Regions from separate parts of the Homo sapiens genome. Here region 1 is linked to region 2. Evidence: promoter capture Hi-C in 16 types of primary human blood cells and fetal thymus (Javierre and others, 2016). All regions are on one chromosome and are shown on one strand. The core of a region is centred on a gene start or on the middle of the fragment in contact, and the rest is flanking DNA. Distances in the headings are between cores, read along the strand shown.

Region 1 (5,884 bases), core at 478-2,977, 250 kb after region 2:
CAAAGTGAATTTAAAAATTTATTTTTTATTTTATTAAATAATTTAAAAATACATATATCAGACCAATTGGTAGTCTGGACATGTCCGGGGTGCAGAGAGTAGGAAGAAGACACCTCAAGGCAGGGAAATTTTGGTGTTCTGCTCAGCTCGCTACCAGAGGCACTCATTAACCTCATGGGTAGGGGAGAAGCAAGGGAGATGGGATGCAGGAGAGAGGCGAGCTGAGAAAAAGCAACAGGTTTAGAGAAACTGATGATGCAAACCCCCAAACTCCCTCTCCAGCTTCACAATGTAGTTCTTTAGCCTCTTCAGGGAGCTTATGGATTGAACACTAGCAAATGTTGGGTGCTATTCCAGAGCTTCTTTTAGGCCAAAACCAAATAATATGACAAAGTCCCTGCCTTCAAAGAAAGAAGGCTGAAAGGCAAGAAAGGACCAGGTGGGAATTGTGATGGCCGGAAAGAGGACAAGGAGTATTGCTGTTACTATTGGGCTTTTTGCTTATTCATAATTTCAACCACTGCATAGCTAAGACTCCCAGAAAATCAGAGTGAGCTGTTCAGAACTGCAGTGTGTCCCCACACTGCCTCTCCATTGCATTCCTCTGCCTCAGTCCCAGCCACATCTCTCAGCCTCAAGAATCCTGTTCCTCAATGAGGGGGTTGGTAGCCATAGCTCGGGGGAGTGGGCCAAACCACGAGCACCCCCACTCATTGCAGGGTCTTTGGAGACTGAACAGAGATTGTTCTTACTAAGCATGAGGTCACCTTTCTTTTCCTGGACTGTCTGGATTCACAGAGTTTCTTTGGGTTCTCTGGCTGAATTCACTCCAGGGCTGATCTCTGTGAGCAGCCCCTGGGATCTAGCTCAGAGAGACTCCTCCAGGGCCCAGTCCTCATCCCCTGTGGAATGGGACCTAGTGAAAGACCAGTCAATTGGGGAAGGATGTGGAGCAGGTCATGAGGCCGGAGGAAGGCAAAGGTCAAGCTAGTTCCAAAGGCCTCATCAAGCGGTAGGAAATGGGAGAGCCTAGGAGCCAAAATGGTGGTTGAGAAGTAAGAAATGCTGCAAGCCAGGAGCAGCAACAAAAGCAGTGAGAGGAGGCTGAGAAGAATTCGGGAGTCAGAGGCCCATCCAGGTACTTGGGGTGACCTTGTTATCCTGGTAAGGGTTTGTGCAACTAGGAGGAACCATTGAAATAGAAGAAATGAAGTAGAGGTCATACCGTTTGTCATCTCTCCAAGTGGAGCTTTCTGCTGAGTCCACTTTTAATGAACAAATAAAATTCGTTGGTAATTAGCGACATTCTTTATTTATAATCCAGGTGCTGAAATCCCCCCAAAGCTTTACCCTGCCTCTTTCCAAAAGATTTAACATATATATTTTTTTTCCTCTTAAAGATTCCTCTTACAGTCTCAATATGAGTCCAACAACCATTTCTTCCCAGATCATACAGAACACGAGCTCAGCCCAGCCTGGGGAGAAGTATCACAGACATTTAATTAGTGCAGGCTGGATTCGTGAAGCATTTCGTGCACCATGAAAATGGGGCATTTTGATACTGGCTCATGGTCTTATTTCAGATCCAACTTCTACATGGTCTTGCAATTAGGAAGAGTACTGGGGCCCAGTGGAAGCCTGAAAACAGTTTTGAGGTTGGATAACTTCATGCTTTTTTTTACTCCTAAATGAATCCCAGATTTTGAGTGCTGTAAATTTTCTGTTTTTCTGTCTGACATCAGCCAGAATACTTCAGGGTTTTGACTACTGTCTTCCTTTAGTTTTATCTGAGAGGCACTCTGGCAGGATCATGGCAGCCCTTACCTAAAAAGCAGATAAGTCCAGGAAACAGTCCAGAGGCTTCTGGGAGCCAGCTGGGCAGGTCTCACCTCTTCAAAGGTGGGCATCCAACTCCATGGTCAAAAAGTAAGAGGCTGCCCAAAGCCCAGCCTAATCCCAGAAGATCACCACAAGAGCCTACCACAGCACCCCAAATGCCCAGCACTGGGGCCGCTCCTTTAGAATAAAATACTGTCATCAGAAGGTTCCTTTCTTGAATTATATTATTTAGGTTAGAAGTTCAGCTGACCTACCAAAAGCCCAAAATAATACAAGCTTCAACTATCGAACTTTTTTTTCCCCTCTCACATATAACTCTCCGGGAATAAACTGTCCAGGATCAACATGGCAGCTCCATGCTGTCAGGTGCCCAGGCTCCTTCCATCTTGTTTCTCCACCACCCCAAGAGTGTGGTTCTTGTCAGCATAGTCCAAGAATGAAAAGGGTTAGGGTGTGCCCTTTAAGGCACAGCTTAGAATTTGGACATATAATTTCTGCTCACATTCAGCTGGCCAGAGCATAGATTACATGGCCACACCTTGATGCAAAGGAAGCCACACCCACCTGCAATCCTTGCACCACACTAGGTCAAGCTCAGCATCATTTACTGCCTCTTGAAGCAGCTTTTGCAAGGAAGGCTGGGAAATGTAGTCATTGCTGGCTGGTCATGTGGCCAGTGAAACTCAGGGGTTCTACTACTAAAGGAAGAAAGTGAAAATGCATATGAGAGACAGTTATCAATCTCTGTCACAGTATATTTTTGTGTCTATGGAAAGATAGAGCCTATTAAGAAATAAACCACTATAGTGGACCCAGCTTGTGGATCTGATTAGAGGTTTGTCCCTTAGAAAGCACAGAGGATTATAAGGGGAGAGGCACATAGGACAAGTAAATTATGATTGGAAAAAGGGATAGGGATACACAAGGCACTTCTCCAGGAAGGGTTGCTGCAGGGCACTGAAATCCTAAAGAAGGAAGAAATAGAGACATGGAAAGCTGGAACAGAACAACGGAGGCTGGGTAAGTGTTGGGACCCGTGGAAACTTCTCAAATGGGTAATATTACTGGTGGCCAACTCTTTTCATGGCTATGCTTCTTGATTCATTCTGCCCTAGATTCATTCCAATCTAAAAGCACATGTTGCTCAAAAGAAAGAGCATAGAGTCTAAACAGACCTCGATTTATATCTTCACTCGGTCACTTACTTACAGAGATAGCCTGGGAAAATTACGCAGCCCCTGAGCCATTTCTACATTTTTGAATCAGGATAATGGGGATATTAACCAATGGTGCTTTTAGGAGAACAAAATGAGTTGATGAATATAAAGCAGCTAGTACCAAGCCTGGCATAGGGTAAGCACTCAGTGAGTGGCATTTGGGATTAGTATGAAACTTTTCACTCCATAACAAACAACTTGTCCCTCAAATGAATACATATGAGTAGGGGGCTTGGCCAGTGTGACAATGTTGTGGGATAGGAAAAAGGTGCATGTGTGAAGTGCTGAGAACCTAGCAGACACCTACCCATTTAGGATGCTTCTCTTAGTGTGCTCAGGCTGCCATAACAAAATACTATGGACTGTGGGCCTTAAACAACAGAAATTTATTTTCTCACAGTACTGGAGACTGGAGGTCTGAGATCAGGGTGCCAGTGTGATCAGGTTCTGGTGAGGCCCCTCTTCCAGGCTGTGTGCTCACATAGCCATTTCTTGGTGCATGTGTGAGTAGAATGAAAACAAGCCCTGTGGGAACTCTTCTTCTAAGGGGACCAACCCCATCATGAGGGAGGCACCCTCATGACCTCATCCAACCCTAAGTTCCTCCCAAAGACCCCACCCTCAAATACTATCCCACTGGAGGCTGAGGCTTCAACACATGGATTTGGGGAGACACACACATTCGGTCCATAACAGTGCCACTCACTGGCAACAATACAGGAAGCACAGAAGCAAACTTGTTCTTTTTTAAAAAAATTAATATTCCATTTTGGGGAAAAGGTGTTGACAGCTACTGGCATAGGAAAAGAACTCATCCTGAAGATGGCATTCCTCGATTGGTGCAAAAGAAGAAAACAAACCTTCATCCATGAGCTTGTATATATGGAGCGGGATGATATCAGCGCTGTGCACCAGATGAATCAGTAATTTTTACATTTTCACATCCAAGCTAAATAGTGCTCTTGACCAAAAAATCTTAGTCGGTTTATCTTCTGGCACCAATATTTAAAGCAAATACCTCAACATAAATAAAATAATAAATTGAAAGACTATACTAATTGTCGTTCTAAGTAGTTAGAGTCATTTAACTGGGGACAGGAAAAATATCCTCAAGATTCTTAACAGGTGAGACAGAAAGGGCAAGAAGGAAGACTCTAAATAATATTAGTTCATCCTGGGTCAGACTTTCACTCACTCAGCATGACCATGCCATGGTGGTTTTTTTTTTTTTTTTAATCTTAGAAAAGTGCATTAAATCTAAAGTATTAGTGAGACCCATCCAAAATGTTGATTAAAACCAGGCTCTTTGGAGAAGTAATTGCTACACTGCTTGGCAGGACCCAGGAGTGTACATTGGACTTGATGCCATTGATGAAGAGATGATGGTCAGTACCAATGGCTGGTTTTAAGAAGAGCAAAGTTAAGAAACAATATTTAGGATGTGCCACACTGGGTCACCACTCAGCATGATTTGCTTCCTCTTAATGTTTTCAACTTTCTCTACCACCTCTAAAGTATACTACCCAGGGTATCTCTGCATAATTCTTTGTCTTGCCCCTTTGAAAGGTTTGAATTCTCAGAGCCAGTCCCTGTTTAGTGACAGCACTTTGGCCACCTGATCACTTTTCCTAAATCTCCTTTCTCCAACCCTATTTTGTCTTTATTTTTTGAAATTTGTCAGAACTAAACAGGTGCAAACAAAACATGCCATGATTTTATATAGTGCTATGAGATTTAAAGAAGGGATTTAAGCATCAGACAAGGAGGTTTTATTTCCTTATGTCATCTAGTATATTTTTGCCTTTTTTAGCTACAATGGTTTATCGACCTTCCTCAGGGGCCATCAGAGTGAGTCCTTTACCACTTGGCCTTACAGTTTCATTCATTTGTATGGCAAGTAGTTGTAACTTTACGCGTAGGGTAGACATGGAGAGTTAGCATTTCATATAGCCTTAGGACAGAGTTTGTTCATCCCTATTTTGATGGCACGGCTACTTTATCTTACTGTGTTTCCTCTGTGTCCAAGTATTTATTAATATTTTTTAAGATTTTCAAGTCAAAATGGCAATTTGAGTATATGTATGTAGCCTGACTTCAGAATCGGGAGAGACTTTTCAACCTTGAGCTACCCACTGGCAGCGTGAGAGAAGGTGATAGGATGTCATAGGCTCAGCTTACACAAGTAAGCATGCACAAGTGTGTAAATAGGCAAAAACCCCTTTCCAGATTGCAACATTTTTCCCAGTCCTGAGTTCAGCCCTTTCTCACCAACATAACAATCTATATTTCTTTTAACTTTTATTTTAGGTTTGGGGGTACATGTGAAGGTTTGTTACATAGGTAAACATGTGTCATGGGGGCTTGTTGTACAGATTATTTCATCACCCAGGTATTAAGCCCAGTACCCAATAGTTATCTCTTTTGCTCCTCTCCCTCCTCCTACCTTCCCCACTCACGTAGACTCCAGTGTCTGTTGTTTCTGTCTTTGTGTTCATAAGTTCTTATTATTTAGCTCCCACTTGTAAGTGAGAACATGCAGTATTTGGTTTTCTGTTCCTGCTTTAGTTTGCTAAGGATAATGGCCTCCAGCTCCATCCATGTTCCTGCAAAAGACATGATCTCATTCTTTTTTATGGCTGCATAGTATTCCATGGTGTATATGTACCACATTTTCTTTATCTAATCTATAACCTACATTTCAAAATGAACACTGCAGGATAATATCCAGAGGACAGAAAAGGAAATGTGTGATGGTTACCTTTGGGGTTATATCTTTCTGTCATCCAGTTATCCCATCTTTCTCCTGGGGACCTTGGGTTCCAGTGGCA
Region 2 (6,025 bases), core at 1,332-3,831:
TGACCAAAAACATTGGTATGTTCTGTCTTCCTGGGAAGACATTCTTCTTCAAGGGAAGAATGAAACATAAAACACAGTTCTCAGGGCAAAAGTCTTGCTCATGCTTCATTAGGACTTTTGGCCTTGGATGAGACCAGGATTGAGGTGAGGGTTGACCCCCACCTTGACCCCCACACTCCCTCTCCCCCAACCTCCCACACCACACAAAGTACAGAAAAAGAAGTTTTTCTGGTTGTAGAGCCATTGAAGTAACAAATATTGTATAAAGGAGGAATTTCTTCTCTTTTACCCACAAGAAACCTAAGGCCTAAACCAAAAAAATAAATGACTCATTGAAAGATGGGAAAATAGAATCTAGGTCTCCTGGCTCCCAGCTTCATCCAGTAGCTCCCCAAATGGGTTTTCAAATCCAGGGTGCATCCTCAGAGGTGGCACAATTTTTTCACTAAGGCAGGGGTCCCCAGAGTTGTTATGAGATGTTAGGACAAATAAATAAAAGAAAAAGGGAAAACGATCAGGTTCTGTAGTCAACTAAGATGAGAAGAACCTGGATGAAACAGAGATTTTTCCCCTATAAATTTCTTAGCCCATTTGATGTGTGAATGTGAATTGTCAGTCTCTAAAGGGGGGATTATTGGACCCGGAACTCTACCTATGTATCTATGTATGTGTGTGTATCTATGTGTGTATACGTGTGTATGTATGTATGTATGTATGTATGTATGTATCTATCTATCTATCTATCTATCTATCTATCTATCTATCTGTCTGTCTGTCTGTCATGGAACATCTTCCAGACCAGCATTTCACAGGTCCACTGCAGAACTTCAGGCCCTTGTCCTTGGTATGACATGCAAAATGTGTGCTGGGCACTGCACCTGTGTACCAAGATGACTACTGGTGGCTGAGTTTAAACGTAGAGACCATGCTACCCACTCATTGACTTCTCAGTGACATGAAGTTTCCTAAAGCAGATGAAGGCCTCTTCACACATGTCTGCCCCTTACTCCAGGCTTATTACCTTCTGTGGATAAAGAGTGAGTTTGAAAGAAATCAGTGGACACATTAAAAAATATCCAGTAATACTGCAGCTGTTCTAATCCACTCCTACCAACAGTTTTGAAGAGATGTTGATAGCGAATCAAGCTTTATAACCATGTGATCCCATCTTATGGTTTCAATCCATGCACAGGAGGAAAATTGTGGGCACGAAGTTTCCAAAGGGAAAATTTATAGATTGGTAGTTAATGAAATACAGTTTTCCTCCTTGGCAAATTTAATTTACTAGCTTCACTGTATAGGAAAAAGCAGGAAAAAAATTAAAACCAACTCACCTCCAAACCTGTTTTGAGCTTTTACTTGTCTGCCCAATTGATAGTTTCTACTCTCTGCTTTTGATGAAAATATTTTTTATTATTTTAATGTAACTTCTGAAAACTAAATTATCTAGAAGCAAATAAAAAGATATTGCTTTTATAGTTCCCAGAAGGAAAAAACAAACACTAGGAAAGTTCTATCTATCAGATGGGGGAGATGTGATGGAGGCAGTGATATTTGAGCTGAGCCTTGAACAATGAACAGGAGTCTACCAAGCGAGAGGCTAGCGGGTGGCCCTCCAAGATAAAACAACAGCATGTACAAAGGCATGGAGACATACACATCTTGACTTTTCCAGGAATGGTGGGAACGCTGGTGGAGCTAGAATGTAGGTACATAGCATAAAGTGGCAGACGGGAAGCCTTTGGAAATCTTATTACATAGGACCCTGGATGCCATTCCAATGACTTTGAATTTTCTGTAGGCTGCCAGCGAAATTTCCAAGCGTGATAGAGTCATGTCTATCTATGCACTTCAGAAAGACAACCTCAGGGTTAATGAAGAAAATGCATTGGAATATAAGAAACTGGTGACCAGAGTGATCAATTGCATGACTGTTGTGAAAGTCCAGGTGAGGGGAGCTGTGGGCAAGGTCAGAGTTGAGAGGCATTTCAGAGATAAAATGACAGTAACTAAGTAGATGTCAGACTGAGAAGAAAGGGCTGTACCAGATATATGGTGCTATCATTAAGTGAGCTCAACATTGCAGAAAAGGGGTAGGTTTGGTGGGAGTTGCTCACAAAACATGTTTAGTCTAAGCAAAACCATTGCCATGGGCTCAGATAAAAGTTAAGAAGTGGAAACCATTCCTACATTCCTATAGGAGCTGCTATCTGGAAGGCCTAGTATACACGTGGCTTTTCAGCTGTGATTTTGTTTGATTTTAGGGATTATTCTTTTTCTGAATCTGAGCAATGTTAGCGTGTAAAATACTCACGCCCACAGCTTTGACTGGGTGAGAAGTTATCATAAATCATATTGAGTTTGTTGTGATACCTTCAGCTTCAACAAGTGATGAGTCAGGTCAACTCCATGTGAAAGTTCCTTGCTAAGCATGCAGATATTCTGAAAGGTTTCCTGGTACACTGGCTCATGGCACAGATAGGAGAAATTGAGGAAGGTAAGTCTTTGACCCCACCTGATAACACCTAGTTTGAGTCAACCTGGTTAAGTACAAATATGAGAAGGCTTCTCATTCAGGTCCATGCTTGCCTACTCCTCTGTCCACTGCTTTCGTGAAGACAAGATGAAGTTCACAGTGAGTAGATTTTTCCTTTTGAATTTACCACCAAATGATTGGAGACTGTCAATATTCTGAGATTTAGGAGGTCTGCTTCTTATGGCCCCATCATGGAAAATTTGTTTTAAAAAAATTCTCTCTTCAAACACATGGACACAGAGAGGGGAACAACACACACTAGGTCCTGTTGGGGGGTGGAGAGTGAGGGGAGGGAACTTAGAGGACAGGTCAATAGGGGCAGCAAACCACCATGGCACACATATACCTATGTAACAAACCTGCACGTTCTGCACATGTATCCCTTTTTTTTAGAAGAAGAAATAATGAAAAAAAATCTTTTTTCTATTTATATAATCATGGCATTTATAAGCATCTCTATAGAGAAGGATAATTGTGCTGAGATTAGACAGCTGTCTGAGCACCTCACACTGACCTATTTTTAACAAAATGACTTTCCGCATCACCTGATTCCGGTCTCCATGCAGGGTAAGCAGTTCCTAAGCCCTAGAAAGTGCCGATCATCCCTCATTCTTGAATTCCTCCTTTTATTTACCAAAATTCCTGAGCATGTTCAGGAAAGATGAAAAGCTTATTATCAAAATAAGTGGCTGAGATAGACTTCTTGTCACATTTGTTACAGTAAAATGGGTCTCCAAGAAAGAAAGATTTGCCTTGGGCTCTAGCATGGCCATTTATTTAAGAAAGCATCTGAAACATGAAGCTACCACAGCATCTCTCCTGTGGTTCCAGACAGAAGCCTGAGAGTCTAGGAGGAGGTGGACCGAGAAACCCTGCCAAAGTAACTAGTAGTGCCGGGTTTCTCACAACACGATGCAAAGGGGCTAGAATCAGATGACTATTTTCATGTTTCAACATACTACACACTGGAAAACGTTACGGCAGACTCTACTTTATAATGGGGCTGCAAATGTAAAATGACTACCTAGAACTAGGTCCTCTTAATAGCAGCAAAGTTTAAAAGGGTCAGAGGGAGCTCCAGACACAGGTTAGATTTGATTTCTCTCCTAGTTCTGCTGTGAACAAGAGGTATAAGTTTGGCCAACTCACTTAACCCCTGAAGCTCAGTTACCTTATCTGTAAAATGATTGCATTGTACTAGGTGTTCTCTAAAATTTCTTCTACCTCTGACTTTTTAGGAGACTAATTTTTAACTCCTTTTTAAGCTATTGGGAGAAAAATTTAATTTTTTTTCAAAAGTTACCTTGAATCTCTAGAGCAGTTCTCAAAACTATTTTGTCCCAGGCAAAGGAAATGAGACTAGGTACCCAGAATGAGGCACCCTGCATAAAGCTCTGTGCTCTGAAAACCAATGTCAGGGACCCTGTGATAAATAATTAAACCAAGTATCCTGGGACACTGCTAGTGACATCGCCTCTGCTGATCACTCTTGCCAGCGAGACACTCTATACTTGCTTTCTCATCATTGGCATCCAAACTGCCTACTAATCCATTGCTTTGGAAAGTTTTTTTTAATAAAAAGATTATTTCTATTAGGAAGAAAACATCCCATGTTAAATAGGAAAATTAACTGAAATCATTTTCAGATGTGATTTTTAGCACTTATAGCCATCTCAAACCATAGTATTCATTTATACTATGCTATTTATTGTAAAACTTCTTTTTTTTTCCAAGGAAAATAAGATAGTTTGCTTTATTTTAAAACAGTAACTTTCTTATATTGGGGCACTGACCAAAATTCAATACTGGTACAAATATGTTACCTAGGAGGTCAAAATATGTGCCAGGTGAATTTTCTGAATTTCTCTAAAGAGAGAATTTTAAACCTTATAAAACAATTAGAAACAAGTGAGTGAGAGGTGAGCATCAACAACCTGTGTAACATAAGCCACAGTACAAATTTAAGCTGAATAACCAAGCCATGTCAGTTATCCCAAATCATTTTTGTTAATATTTAGGAGGATACACATATTTTCAATAACTTAAAAGTGAATCTTTACTCCTATCTCTTAATACTCGAAGAAGTATAACTTTCTTCTTTTACTAGATTTAAATAATCCAAATATCTACTCAAGGTAGGATGCTGTCATTAACTATAGCTGAGTTTATCCAAAATAGAAAAATCATGAAGATTTATAAAGCATTTTAAAAATAATCATTTATAGCAAGTCCTTGAAAGCTCTAAATAAGAAAGGCAGTTCTCTACTTTCTAATAACACCTATGGTTTATATTACATAATATAATTCAACAAAACAGCATTCTGACCAATGATAATTTATAGGAAATTCATTTGCCAAGTATATGTTTTATTATAAAGTTAATATTTTGACCAATCTTAAAAATTTTTAAACTCTATTCTGACATTTCCAGAAGTATTATCTTAGCAAAGTCATCTTTATGATACCACTTATTAAACTGAAGAGAAACAAGATGGTACATTCTGGGTTTTACTTTAAAAGGGATTTGATTCAATAATTTGATTTATCACTACTTGAAAATTACATTTTCTTCCTCAGTACTGGATGGCAATGAGATGAAAGCAGCTTTCCTGGCTCTCAACTTCCCTTCTTCATCAATTTTTCCAGCGTTTCATAAGGCCTACACTAAAAATTCTAAAACTATATATCACATTAATATAATTACTTATAATTAATCAGCAATTTCACATTATCGTTAAAACCTTTATGGTTAAAAAATGCAAGGTAAGAGAAGAAAAAAACACATTGAACTAGAACTGAACACATTGGTAAAATTAGTGAATACTTTTCATAAGCTTGGATAGAGGAAGAAAGAAGACATCATTTTGCCATGTAACAGGAGACCAATGTTATTTGTGATTTCAGATTGTCTTTGCTGGACTTCTTGGAGTCTTTCTAGCTCCTGCCCTAGCTAACTATGTAAGTCTCACCTTTTCAAGTTTGCTACCAAAATGCATTTGCAAGGAAATGTGATATTAAATCACTCTCAATCTCTTATAAACTTCAGAATATCAACGTCAATGATGACAACAACAATGCTGGAAGTGGGCAGCAGTCAGTGAGTGTCAACAATGAACACAATGTGGCCAATGTTGACAATAACAACGGATGGGACTCCTGGAATTCCATCTGGGATTATGGAAATGTAGGTAGTCAACGTGCAATTTTCACTTTATTGTTTAAAAATACGATTTCTTTTTAACAAAAAATGTGCATGTTAACCATAAAGAAATTAAAAATAAATTCTAATTACACATAGCATACAGTTATAAGTAAAGGTGACCATTTTGCTCATCCGATTTTGTTCCCTAGAGATAACTACTGTTAATAAGTGTTGCATGATCAGTTAAAATTCAAACCAACAAACACTATGTTCAAGGGATTGTGGGTATATACAACAAATATGAACATCCTTTTGCCTTGCCTGCAGATACCCTCAATAATGCTGAA

Evidence for each region. Contacts are between HindIII fragments. The CHiCAGO score rates a contact against its expected background, and 5 or more counts as called.
Region 1: a contact is called between a fragment that was not itself captured here and the fragment with the promoter of GKN1 in region 2, in 2 of 17 cell types (megakaryocytes and M0 macrophages). The highest score is 5.6, in megakaryocytes.

The regions. Positions count from the first base shown.
Region 1 is chr2:69,225,461-69,231,344 of GRCh38, forward strand. The region is part of intron 17 of ANTXR1 (ANTXR cell adhesion molecule 1); the gene reads left to right. Among named protein-coding and RNA genes, the nearest start is that of MIR3126, 120 kb to the left of the region's middle. The HindIII fragment of the contact is 771 bases long and covers 1,343-2,113 here.
Region 2 is chr2:68,972,055-68,978,079 of GRCh38, forward strand. GKN1 (gastrokine 1) reads left to right here and starts at 2,582. Exons shown (of 6, transcript NM_019617.4): 1 at 2,582-2,635; 2 at 5,441-5,494; 3 at 5,583-5,720. The coding sequence starts at 2,624. RefSeq lists a silencer at 72-304. The HindIII fragment of the contact is 2,059 bases long and covers 1,145-3,203 here.